Regions from separate parts of the Homo sapiens genome. Here region 2 is linked to region 1. The links are contacts of gene promoters, found by promoter capture Hi-C in human tissues and cell types (Jung and others, 2019). All regions are on one chromosome and are shown on one strand. The core of a region is centred on a gene start or on the middle of the fragment in contact, and the rest is flanking DNA. Distances in the headings are between cores, read along the strand shown. Region 1 holds the start of GP1BA (glycoprotein Ib platelet subunit alpha). Region 2 overlaps SPNS2 (SPNS lysolipid transporter 2, sphingosine-1-phosphate).

What was found. Contacts are between HindIII fragments. The study calls those that stand out against the background at their distance.
Region 2: a fragment that was not itself captured here is called in contact with the fragment with the promoter of GP1BA in region 1 in 1 of the 25 tissues and cell types used here (dorsolateral prefrontal cortex).

What each region holds. Positions count from the first base shown.
Region 1 is chr17:4,930,162-4,935,225 of GRCh38, forward strand. It overlaps GP1BA (glycoprotein Ib platelet subunit alpha), which reads left to right and starts at 2,116. Exons shown (of 2, transcript NM_000173.7): 1 at 2,116-2,204; 2 at 2,438-4,862. The coding sequence starts at 2,444. The coding sequence ends at 4,402. RefSeq lists an enhancer at 4,162-4,381. The HindIII fragment of the contact is 8,753 bases long and covers 2,097-5,064 here.
Region 2 is chr17:4,516,978-4,521,925 of GRCh38, forward strand. The region is part of intron 2 of SPNS2 (SPNS lysolipid transporter 2, sphingosine-1-phosphate); the gene reads left to right. Among named protein-coding and RNA genes, the nearest start is that of SPNS2, 21 kb to the left of the region's middle. The HindIII fragment of the contact is 4,831 bases long and covers 17-4,847 here.

The DNA of each region.
Region 1 (5,064 bases), core at 866-3,365:
GGAGGCTGTTGCAGGGAAGCAGTAGCGAGAAGATGGTGCCCTGGGCAGGGCATGGTGGCTCACGCCTGTACTCCTAGCACTTTGGGAGGCCGAGGTGGGAGGATCGCTTGAGCCCAGGAGTTTGAGACCAGCCTAGGCAACAAACAAATGTTTTTCTGTCTCTAGAAAAAAATTTTTAAATCAGCCAGGTGTGGTGGTGCATGCCTGTAGTCCCAACTCCTTGGGAGGCTGAAGCAGGAGGATCCCTTGGGTCCAGGAGTTTGTCCTTGAGTGAGGCATGATTGCGCCACTGCACTCCAGCCTGGGAGACAGAGCAAAGGAGACCAGCCTGGACAACATGGTAAAACCCCGTCTCTACTAAAGATATGAAAAATTAGCCGGGCATGATGGCGGGTGCCTGTAATCCCAGCTACTCAGGAGGCTGAGGCAGGAGAATTGCTTGAACCCAGGAGGCAGAGGTGGCAGTGAGCCGAGATGGAGCCATTGCACTCCAGCCTGGGAGACAGGGCAAGACTCCATCTCAAAAAAAAAAAAAAAAAAAAAGAAGAAGAAGAAGAAAGGAGGAAGAGGAGGAAGAAGAAGAGGAGGAGGAGGATATGAACAAGAAACAACAACAACCTTGGACTAGGAATGCTGGCAGGATGGTGTGGATGGAGAGTAGATTTGAGAGAGACGGGAGATAAAATCACCAGGACTTGGTGATGGGGATGAAAGACGGGAGACGTTAGAGATGACTATTAGGGATTTTGTTTGTGTTGACTGAATGGTTAGGTAAATGAGTGGATGATGGTGCCACTCACCAGGCTGAGCAACACAGGAGGAGAAGCCATTTGGAGAGAGATGGTGAGTTCAGCTTTGAACATATTGTTTTGGTGTCTGTGGGACATCCAAGTAGAGATGTCCAGAAGGCAGCTGGACATATGTGCTTGTGTCTCAGGAGAAGGGTCTGGACTAGAGACATAGATTTGAGAGTCATTAGGTTGTAGGTGGTGGTTGAAGGCAAGGGAATGGATGAGGATAATCTCAGGTGGTTGCATAGCGTAAGAAAAGAAGAGAATGCCGGGCGCGGTGGCTCATGCCTCTAATCCCAGCACTTCGGGAAGCCAATGTGGGTGGATCACTTGAGATGAGGAGTTCGAGACCAGGCTGACCAACATGGTGAAACCCCGTCTCTACTAAAAATATAAAAATTAGCTGGGAATGAAGACAGCCTAAGCACAAACTCTGGGGGCAGTTTAATTGTTCAAGAAGGGGAATCTATGAAGGAGACTGAGAAGGCCCAACCAAACAGGTAAGAAGAAAACCAAGAAAATTACAGGGTCATGTGTCACAGAGGCCAAAAGGAGAATCCCAAGGGGCGAGTGGCCATGGGTATGCAGGCTGCCGAAATAAAGTAAGATCACAGTGGAGAAGTTTCCCATGGATGTAGAGGAGGGAGAGCATTAAAGACCTTGGTAAGAACCGAGTCAATGGAGTAGCAGGGGAAAGAAATCAGCATAGACTGGGGTGAGAAGGCAGAGAGAAAGGTGGGAGAGAATTAAAAGTAGGCAACTCTCAGAATGCAGCTGTGAAGAGGAAGAGAAGCGGGCATCTGGAGAGGTTTTTTTGTTTTTAAGATGGAGTTTTGCTCTTGTCACCCAGGCTGGAGTACAATGGCACGATCTCGGCTCACCGCAACCTCTTTCCACCTCCCGGTTTCAAGCGATTCTCCTGCCTCAGCCTCCCGAGTAGCTGGGATTACAGGCATGCGCCACCACGCCTGGCTAATGTATTTTTAGTAGAGACAGGGTTTCCCCGTGTTGGTCAGGCTGGTCTCGAACTCCTGACTTCAGGTGATCCGCCCGCCTCAGCCTCCCAAAGTTCTGGGATTACAGGCATGAGCCACGCGCCCGGCCCTGGAGAGGTTTTTAAAAGATGGCAGAAGGCTGTTTGGAGGAGTCCACCCCCATCTCCCCTGTGTAAAAGGAAAGCGGAAGAGAGAACCACAAAGAGGGCCTGGGGGAAAGCCGTGGAGTGAGGCGATAAGGGCTTGTGTCCAGGGGATTCCCGGTCACTGGAATCCCTATCAGGCCTGCATTTCCTCCTCACCCCCATCCCCTTCCTTGCCACTGGCTTAGTCCTCCATGGGGCTAGAAGAGAGAAGGACGGAGTCGAGTGGCACCCTAGAAGACGCTCTGTGCCTTCGGAGGTCTTTCTGCCTGCCTGTAAGCCGGGGTTGGTGCTGGGGCAGGAGAGGGGTCTGAGGGAGGGGAAAGAGCCAAGGACCTGGAGCTAGTAGTTTTAAGTTCTGCAGGCAAGGGTGGGAGATGGGAGTAGGGAGGACAGGAGGTGTGGATGCTGTTTCTGGAAGCGAAGCTGCAGGGGGAAGGGGGCTGGGGCCTGGGGGGATGCTTCCAGGGGATGCAGGGGGATCCACTCAAGGCTCCCTTGCCCACAGGTCCTCATGCCTCTCCTCCTCTTGCTGCTCCTGCTGCCAAGCCCCTTACACCCCCACCCCATCTGTGAGGTCTCCAAAGTGGCCAGCCACCTAGAAGTGAACTGTGACAAGAGGAATCTGACAGCGCTGCCTCCAGACCTGCCGAAAGACACAACCATCCTCCACCTGAGTGAGAACCTCCTGTACACCTTCTCCCTGGCAACCCTGATGCCTTACACTCGCCTCACTCAGCTGAACCTAGATAGGTGCGAGCTCACCAAGCTCCAGGTCGATGGGACGCTGCCAGTGCTGGGGACCCTGGATCTATCCCACAATCAGCTGCAAAGCCTGCCCTTGCTAGGGCAGACACTGCCTGCTCTCACCGTCCTGGACGTCTCCTTCAACCGGCTGACCTCGCTGCCTCTTGGTGCCCTGCGTGGTCTTGGCGAACTCCAAGAGCTCTACCTGAAAGGCAATGAGCTGAAGACCCTGCCCCCAGGGCTCCTGACGCCCACACCCAAGCTGGAGAAGCTCAGTCTGGCTAACAACAACTTGACTGAGCTCCCCGCTGGGCTCCTGAATGGGCTGGAGAATCTCGACACCCTTCTCCTCCAAGAGAACTCGCTGTATACAATACCAAAGGGCTTTTTTGGGTCCCACCTCCTGCCTTTTGCTTTTCTCCACGGGAACCCCTGGTTATGCAACTGTGAGATCCTCTATTTTCGTCGCTGGCTGCAGGACAATGCTGAAAATGTCTACGTATGGAAGCAAGGTGTGGACGTCAAGGCCATGACCTCTAACGTGGCCAGTGTGCAGTGTGACAATTCAGACAAGTTTCCCGTCTACAAATACCCAGGAAAGGGGTGCCCCACCCTTGGTGATGAAGGTGACACAGACCTATATGATTACTACCCAGAAGAGGACACTGAGGGCGATAAGGTGCGTGCCACAAGGACTGTGGTCAAGTTCCCCACCAAAGCCCATACAACCCCCTGGGGTCTATTCTACTCATGGTCCACTGCTTCTCTAGACAGCCAAATGCCCTCCTCCTTGCATCCAACACAAGAATCCACTAAGGAGCAGACCACATTCCCACCTAGATGGACCCCAAATTTCACACTTCACATGGAATCCATCACATTCTCCAAAACTCCAAAATCCACTACTGAACCAACCCCAAGCCCGACCACCTCAGAGCCCGTCCCGGAGCCCGCCCCAAACATGACCACCCTGGAGCCCACTCCAAGCCCGACCACCCCAGAGCCCACCTCAGAGCCCGCCCCCAGCCCGACCACCCCGGAGCCCACCTCAGAGCCCGCCCCCAGCCCGACCACCCCAGAGCCCACCTCAGAGCCCGCCCCCAGCCCGACCACCCCGGAGCCCACCCCAATCCCGACCATCGCCACAAGCCCGACCATCCTGGTGTCTGCCACAAGCCTGATCACTCCAAAAAGCACATTTTTAACTACCACAAAACCCGTATCACTCTTAGAATCCACCAAAAAAACCATCCCTGAACTTGATCAGCCACCAAAGCTCCGTGGGGTGCTCCAAGGGCATTTGGAGAGCTCCAGAAATGACCCTTTTCTCCACCCCGACTTTTGCTGCCTCCTCCCCCTGGGCTTCTATGTCTTGGGTCTCTTCTGGCTGCTCTTTGCCTCTGTGGTCCTCATCCTGCTGCTGAGCTGGGTTGGGCATGTGAAACCACAGGCCCTGGACTCTGGCCAAGGTGCTGCTCTGACCACAGCCACACAAACCACACACCTGGAGCTGCAGAGGGGACGGCAAGTGACAGTGCCCCGGGCCTGGCTGCTCTTCCTTCGAGGTTCGCTTCCCACTTTCCGCTCCAGCCTCTTCCTGTGGGTACGGCCTAATGGCCGTGTGGGGCCTCTAGTGGCAGGAAGGAGGCCCTCAGCTCTGAGTCAGGGTCGTGGTCAGGACCTGCTGAGCACAGTGAGCATTAGGTACTCTGGCCACAGCCTCTGAGGGTGGGAGGTTTGGGGACCTTGAGAGAAGAGCCTGTGGGCTCTCCTATTGGAATCTAGTTGGGGGTTGGAGGGGTAAGGAACACAGGGTGATAGGGAGGGGTCTTAGTTCCTTTTTCTGTATCAGAAGCCCTGTCTTCACAACACAGGCACACAATTTCAGTCCCAGCCAAAGCAGAAGGGGTAATGACATGGACTTGGCGGGGGGACAAGACAAAGCTCCCGATGCTGCATGGGGCGCTGCCAGATCTCACGGTGAACCATTTTGGCAGAATACAGCATGGTTCCCACATGCATCTATGCACAGAAGAAAATCTGGAAAGTGATTTATCAGGATGTGAGCACTCGTTGTGTCTGGATGTTACAAATATGGGTGGTTTTATTTTCTTTTTCCCTGTTTAGCATTTTCTAGTTTTCCACTATTATTGTATATTATCTGTATAATAAAAAATAATTTTAGGGTTGGGAGTGATGGCTCATGCCTGTAATCCTAGCACTTTGGGAGGCCGAGGCGGGTGGATCACCAGAGGTAGGGAGTTCGAGACCAGCCTGGCAAACATGGTGAAACCCTGTCTCTACTAAAAATACAAAAATTAGCCAGGCGTGGTGGTGCACACCTATAACCCCAGCTACTCGGGAGGGTGGGGCAGGAGAATCGCTTGA
Region 2 (4,948 bases), core at 1,182-3,681, 410 kb before region 1:
CGAACTTCCATAGAACACATCACCCAGATTCATCAAGGGAACGCCCGCCTGGCTCAGTTTCCGGGCCTGGGGTTTCTTCGTTCTAACCGTGGGTGATTTTGTTTCCATCCAAGCTTCCTGATTCCAAGCTGTGTCCCCAGGCTGCTGGGTAGTTTTTCTGGTAGAGTTCCCTTTCGAGAATGGGCATTTCCCACCTGGCGCTGGCTAGTTCCAGCCCCTGCTCCGTACAGGCCTGGGGCTTCCACTTCCTTCCCCATAGAGGCCCCCTCTGTTTCCAGGGACCCTGGCAGAAGCAAATCCCAAACCATTCCTTAGGGAATTCTTCATGACCCAGAGCCTGCATGGGACACGGGACAATTTCCACTGAAGACAAACTCAAATTCAAAATTAATAGAGCAGGCCAGGCGCGGTGGCTCACACCTGTAATCCCAGCACTTTGGGAGGCTGAGGCGGGTGGATCACCCGAGGTCAGCAGTTTGAGACCAGCCTGAACCAACATGGTGAACCCCATCTCTACTAAAATACATAAATTAGCTGGGCATGGTGTGGGCGCCTGTAATCTCAGCTACTCAGGAGGCTGAGGCAGGAGAATCGCTTGAACCCAAGAGGTGGAGGTTGCAGTGAGCCAAGATCACACCACTGCACTCCAGCCTGGGTAACAAGACCAAGACTCCGTCTCAAAAAAAAAAATTAATAGAGCATACAGTTCTCCCTCATTTTTTTGAGAGGGAGTCAGCTGACCCTGAAGATGGGAAAACAGATTCGTCACAAAGGGACTTTAAAATTAGGTGTGTTTAATATTCAAAGCTCTAAAGGAAAGGATAGGACTTGTAAGACAAGAACAGAACATTATGAAAAGAGAACCGGAAAATGTTTAAAAGACTAATATTCGAAAATACCAGAAGTGAAAAATATGTATTAAAATAAAAAATGGAATAATTAGGTGAGTTAATGAGTAGACTACACCTAGTTGAAAAGAAAAGTGAATTAGAAGCTAGATCTGAGGAAATCAGCGTCAATGCAACACAGGGAAGGGTGAGGGAGAACGAAGGCTGTTTGTGGCACTGCCTGACTCGAGTGGCCTGTGGCCCATTGGCCATGGGTTGGCGTATGGGGAGAACAGAAGGAGAAGAGGCTGGACAGTGGGCAGGGTCTGAGTGTGAAAGGCTTGAAGGCCAAGATAAGGCATGTAGGTTTTGTCTTGGGGCAGTAGGGAGCCAGAGAAGGTTTTGGAACAGGGCAGTCCGTGTAAAATGTGTGTCTCGGGCCGGGCGCGGTGGCTCACGCCTGTAATCCCAGCACTTTGGGAGGCTGAGGCGGGTGGATCACGAGGTCAGGAGATCGAGACCATCCTGGCTAACATGGTGAAACCCCGTCTCTGCTAAAAATACAAAAAATTAGCCGGGTGTGGTGGCGGGTGCCTGTAATCCCGCTACTCGGGAGACTGAGGCAGGGGAATGGCATGAACCCAGGAGGCGGAGCTTGCAGTGAGCCGAGATCGCGCCACTGCACTCCAGCCTGGGCGACAGAGCGAGACTCCGTCTCAAAAACAAAACAAAAACAAACAAACAAAAAAGATGTGTGTCTCAGGATATTCATTCTGGGACCAAGTGTGGGAAGGGGCAGCAGAGGAAGCTGAAGGCTACTCAGGGCCGGGGTTTGTAGGCTCACGAGGAAGTGCCAGGATGGGGATGGGGGAACGGAGGGAGAGTGGGGACAGAGGAAGAGCCAGCTCAAACCGAAACCAGACAGTGCCTCTGTTTTGGGGGTAAGTCTCCTTCTGCCTGTTCTCCCCTCCCGTCTTTGGCCAGCCCAGCGACTCCTGCTTCAGCAGACTTGGGTTCTGAAGGCACAGCCGGGCAGCCCCTGCGGCTGTTCCCCAAAGCCCTCCTTTTCAAGGAGTGGCCCCAAAACCTCATTCACCCTGAGGCCTGAGAGCCCAACACAAGGTTTACATCCTGAGTAGGGGATCACAGAGCAGGTGTTCCCGTCCTTCCACCGGGAAGTCTGAGCGTGGTGAGCTTTCAGGCGCTGATGGGGCCATCTGTCCTGAGCATTCTCCGTCAGCTTGGCCAGCCCAGGCCGTCCCTTGGATGGCAGAGCCTGGCCCCCGCCCCACCCATGCCTGCCTGAGCACCCTCCCTGCCCACAGGATGTGGAGGATGGTAGGTCTTCTCCAAATAACAGATCAGCCATGTAAAAATAGCCGTGGCTCAGCCCAGGCCGAAGCAAGGGCTGAATGCAGGCTCCAAGGCCACAGGGCGGGGGCTCAGGGCTCCCTCAAGCTCAGACTTGCCCTTTCCTGCTCCAAAACTGCTTTCTGGGGTCATACAGGCCATGTGTGCCATGGGGATGGCTCCGCTCACCATGGACAGGGGTCCTGGGGCTGCCCACCAGGACACCGAGGGCCCGTGGGGGTTCTGAGCTCTGGGCTGCCGTGAGAGGTGGACAGCACTGGCTTTCTGACGGCCTCCTGCCAGCCTGGCGAGGAGGAGGGAGTGAGGCCCTGGCCCAAGACCCCGAGGCAGGCGGGCTGGTCTGACCCCTCCCTCCCTGCTGTCACGGCCCTGCCCGCTCGGCCCTGGCTCCCTGCCCTGCCTCTCCATTGTCCTAGACCTGTGGGCTCAGCACACCCTCCACAGGATGTCCCTGCGGGAACTGCTGGGAAAGCCGCCCCTACCAAAACCAGGGGTGGGGCTGCCAGTCTGCCCAGAAAGCTCTCCTCAAACAAACAAAGACCACGGGATTGCGGGGTGGTGGGCAGGGGAAGCTTCTAGCTTGGAGGCCCAGCCCAGGCTGGTCTTTATTCTCAGCAGAGTTGCCTGCTGGCCTCTGTGTCCCCATCGGACACAGTCCACATGGGCAAGGCTTCGCCTATCCTGTCCCTTCTGCCAGGAACATTCTCTCAGCCCCCTCCCCGTCCCTACCCTGATTGTGTTCAGGCCCCTCCATGGCCTGTGACCTCCAGGGGGCCAGGCGGGGTCCTCCCTCCTGTCTGTCCTGAGCAGAGAGAGGGCAGCAGTGATGGATCCCACCTCCCTCCTGACCCTGGACTGCCATGTCCCAAGGGAAGACACTGAGGGGCAGGCTGGTCCAGACTGTGCCTTCCTAATTTGGTCTGTCATCTCGGGCAACTTCCTCCACCTCTTGGGGCCTCAGTGACCTCAGCTGTTAGATAGGGATGGACGTGGGGAGGATCAGGTGAGCTAAGGGCACGTAGGTGCTTGGGCAAGTTCATCAGGCTGGGGCCGGTGGGTGGGGACGGGGCGTGCCAGCTTCTGCCAGGAGTCCACCTGCAGTCCTGGGGACTTCTGCCCATCTAAGTGAGGAGCCAGAAACCAGGGAGGGGTTGAAAGAGCTAAGAAGGGCCCGTGCTTCCTGCTCCACTGTGGGCAAGAGGAGAGAATGGAGCATGATGGCCGGGGTCTGGCGAAGGTCTGGGTCACGTCCCTCCAGTCCCTCGTCACCCCCCCGGGAGGGGGCTTTTTCAAGGATCCTACCATGGTGTTGGGGGGCGGGGTGGAGAGAGCGCGCTGTGGTTCTCTGCCGCCTTCTAAACACCAAACCCTGTCCTGGTCTTTAGCCCAGTCCTCCCTCCACAGCCTCATCTCTCGCTGCTTCCTCTTGAGCATCCTCAGGCCATGGCCTGACCTGTCTCCTTGCTGTCCTCAGCAGGCCCTGAACTTTCCCTGACCTTGGGAACATCAGCTGGGACCTTCCCCCTTCCCAGCATGGCAGTCTGGGGAGTGATTTAGAGCAAGGACTCTGGAGTCTGCCAAACTGGGATTTAAATTCTGGCTCAGCCGCACACTCGCTGTGTGACATCACTTCTTTTGGCCTCCATTGTCTCCTCTGTAAAATGAAGAGAACAGAATCAAAAGAGATCATCTGTGCATATGTCAAGGCTGCATGCTGGGCCTTGCCTATATATCCATAAATAATAACTGCAGTTATCATGAACACTAAGCATCATGCCTCGTGAACCATTATACAATATTGCTGATCTGAAGTTTATATTTCAGCGTATATTCTTGATGTTAAGTATTATCTTAGCGGTAAACTCCTATGCATGCTTCAGTGCCCAGCTTTGTCACCACCGCCTCCGGGAAGCCTCTCTTCATTATCCTGGCAGGATCTGGAGCTCCTTGGTGGTTCCCCAACATAGGTTGTCCTTTAAACAGAGCAACCTATGAACAAGATCTGCCCCTGGCCAGACAGGGGGAAACTTCTCTTCTGATTCCTTCTGTCCACTTGCCACCTAGCACAGACAGGCACAGGGAGAACAATTCCTCCTCCTCCCCCAACATGTGTCAGTCCTGATGCAACTGGAAATCTCCCTCCTGCCACATTCTGATCTGATCTCAGGCAGGTCCTTGGAGGCAGGCCCAGCAGGAAAAATTCTTTTTCTAAATGTGAGGAAATAATTTCTGCCTTGACTAATTTAAACAAGGGCCCAGTGTTGACCAAGGCCGGCCTGCTCTGGGCAGGGTGTGGCATTAAGCACCTTGCACGTGCTATCCAGCACCCAGACCCACCCTGGAGAGCTGCTATTTTTATCTTCATTTTACAGATGAGGATGCTGGCATGTTGGCGCTGGCTCAGGCCAGCTCATGAGAGTCAATTGTTAACATTTCAGGAATGGTGTGTGAGCTAGTCGTAAAATACAACCATTGTTAAAAACTAAATGATATCGGCTTACAATTAAATAATTAGAAACAAGGTAATAACTACTCAAAAGTCCTCACTTCCTAATTATTTTGCTGTGTTTCAGCGTTATCTGTGGTCCTATGGTGAGTGGCGTCTGTTCTATTTGTGTGGTAGAAACACTGGACAATGGCGTGTCCCCGCACATCCCTTTCCAACGCCCATCAGTGACACGACGTGGGTAGCTTGAACTCAGCCAGGGCGGAGTGTTTACACCACAGAAATGGGCAAACACGGCCGGGCA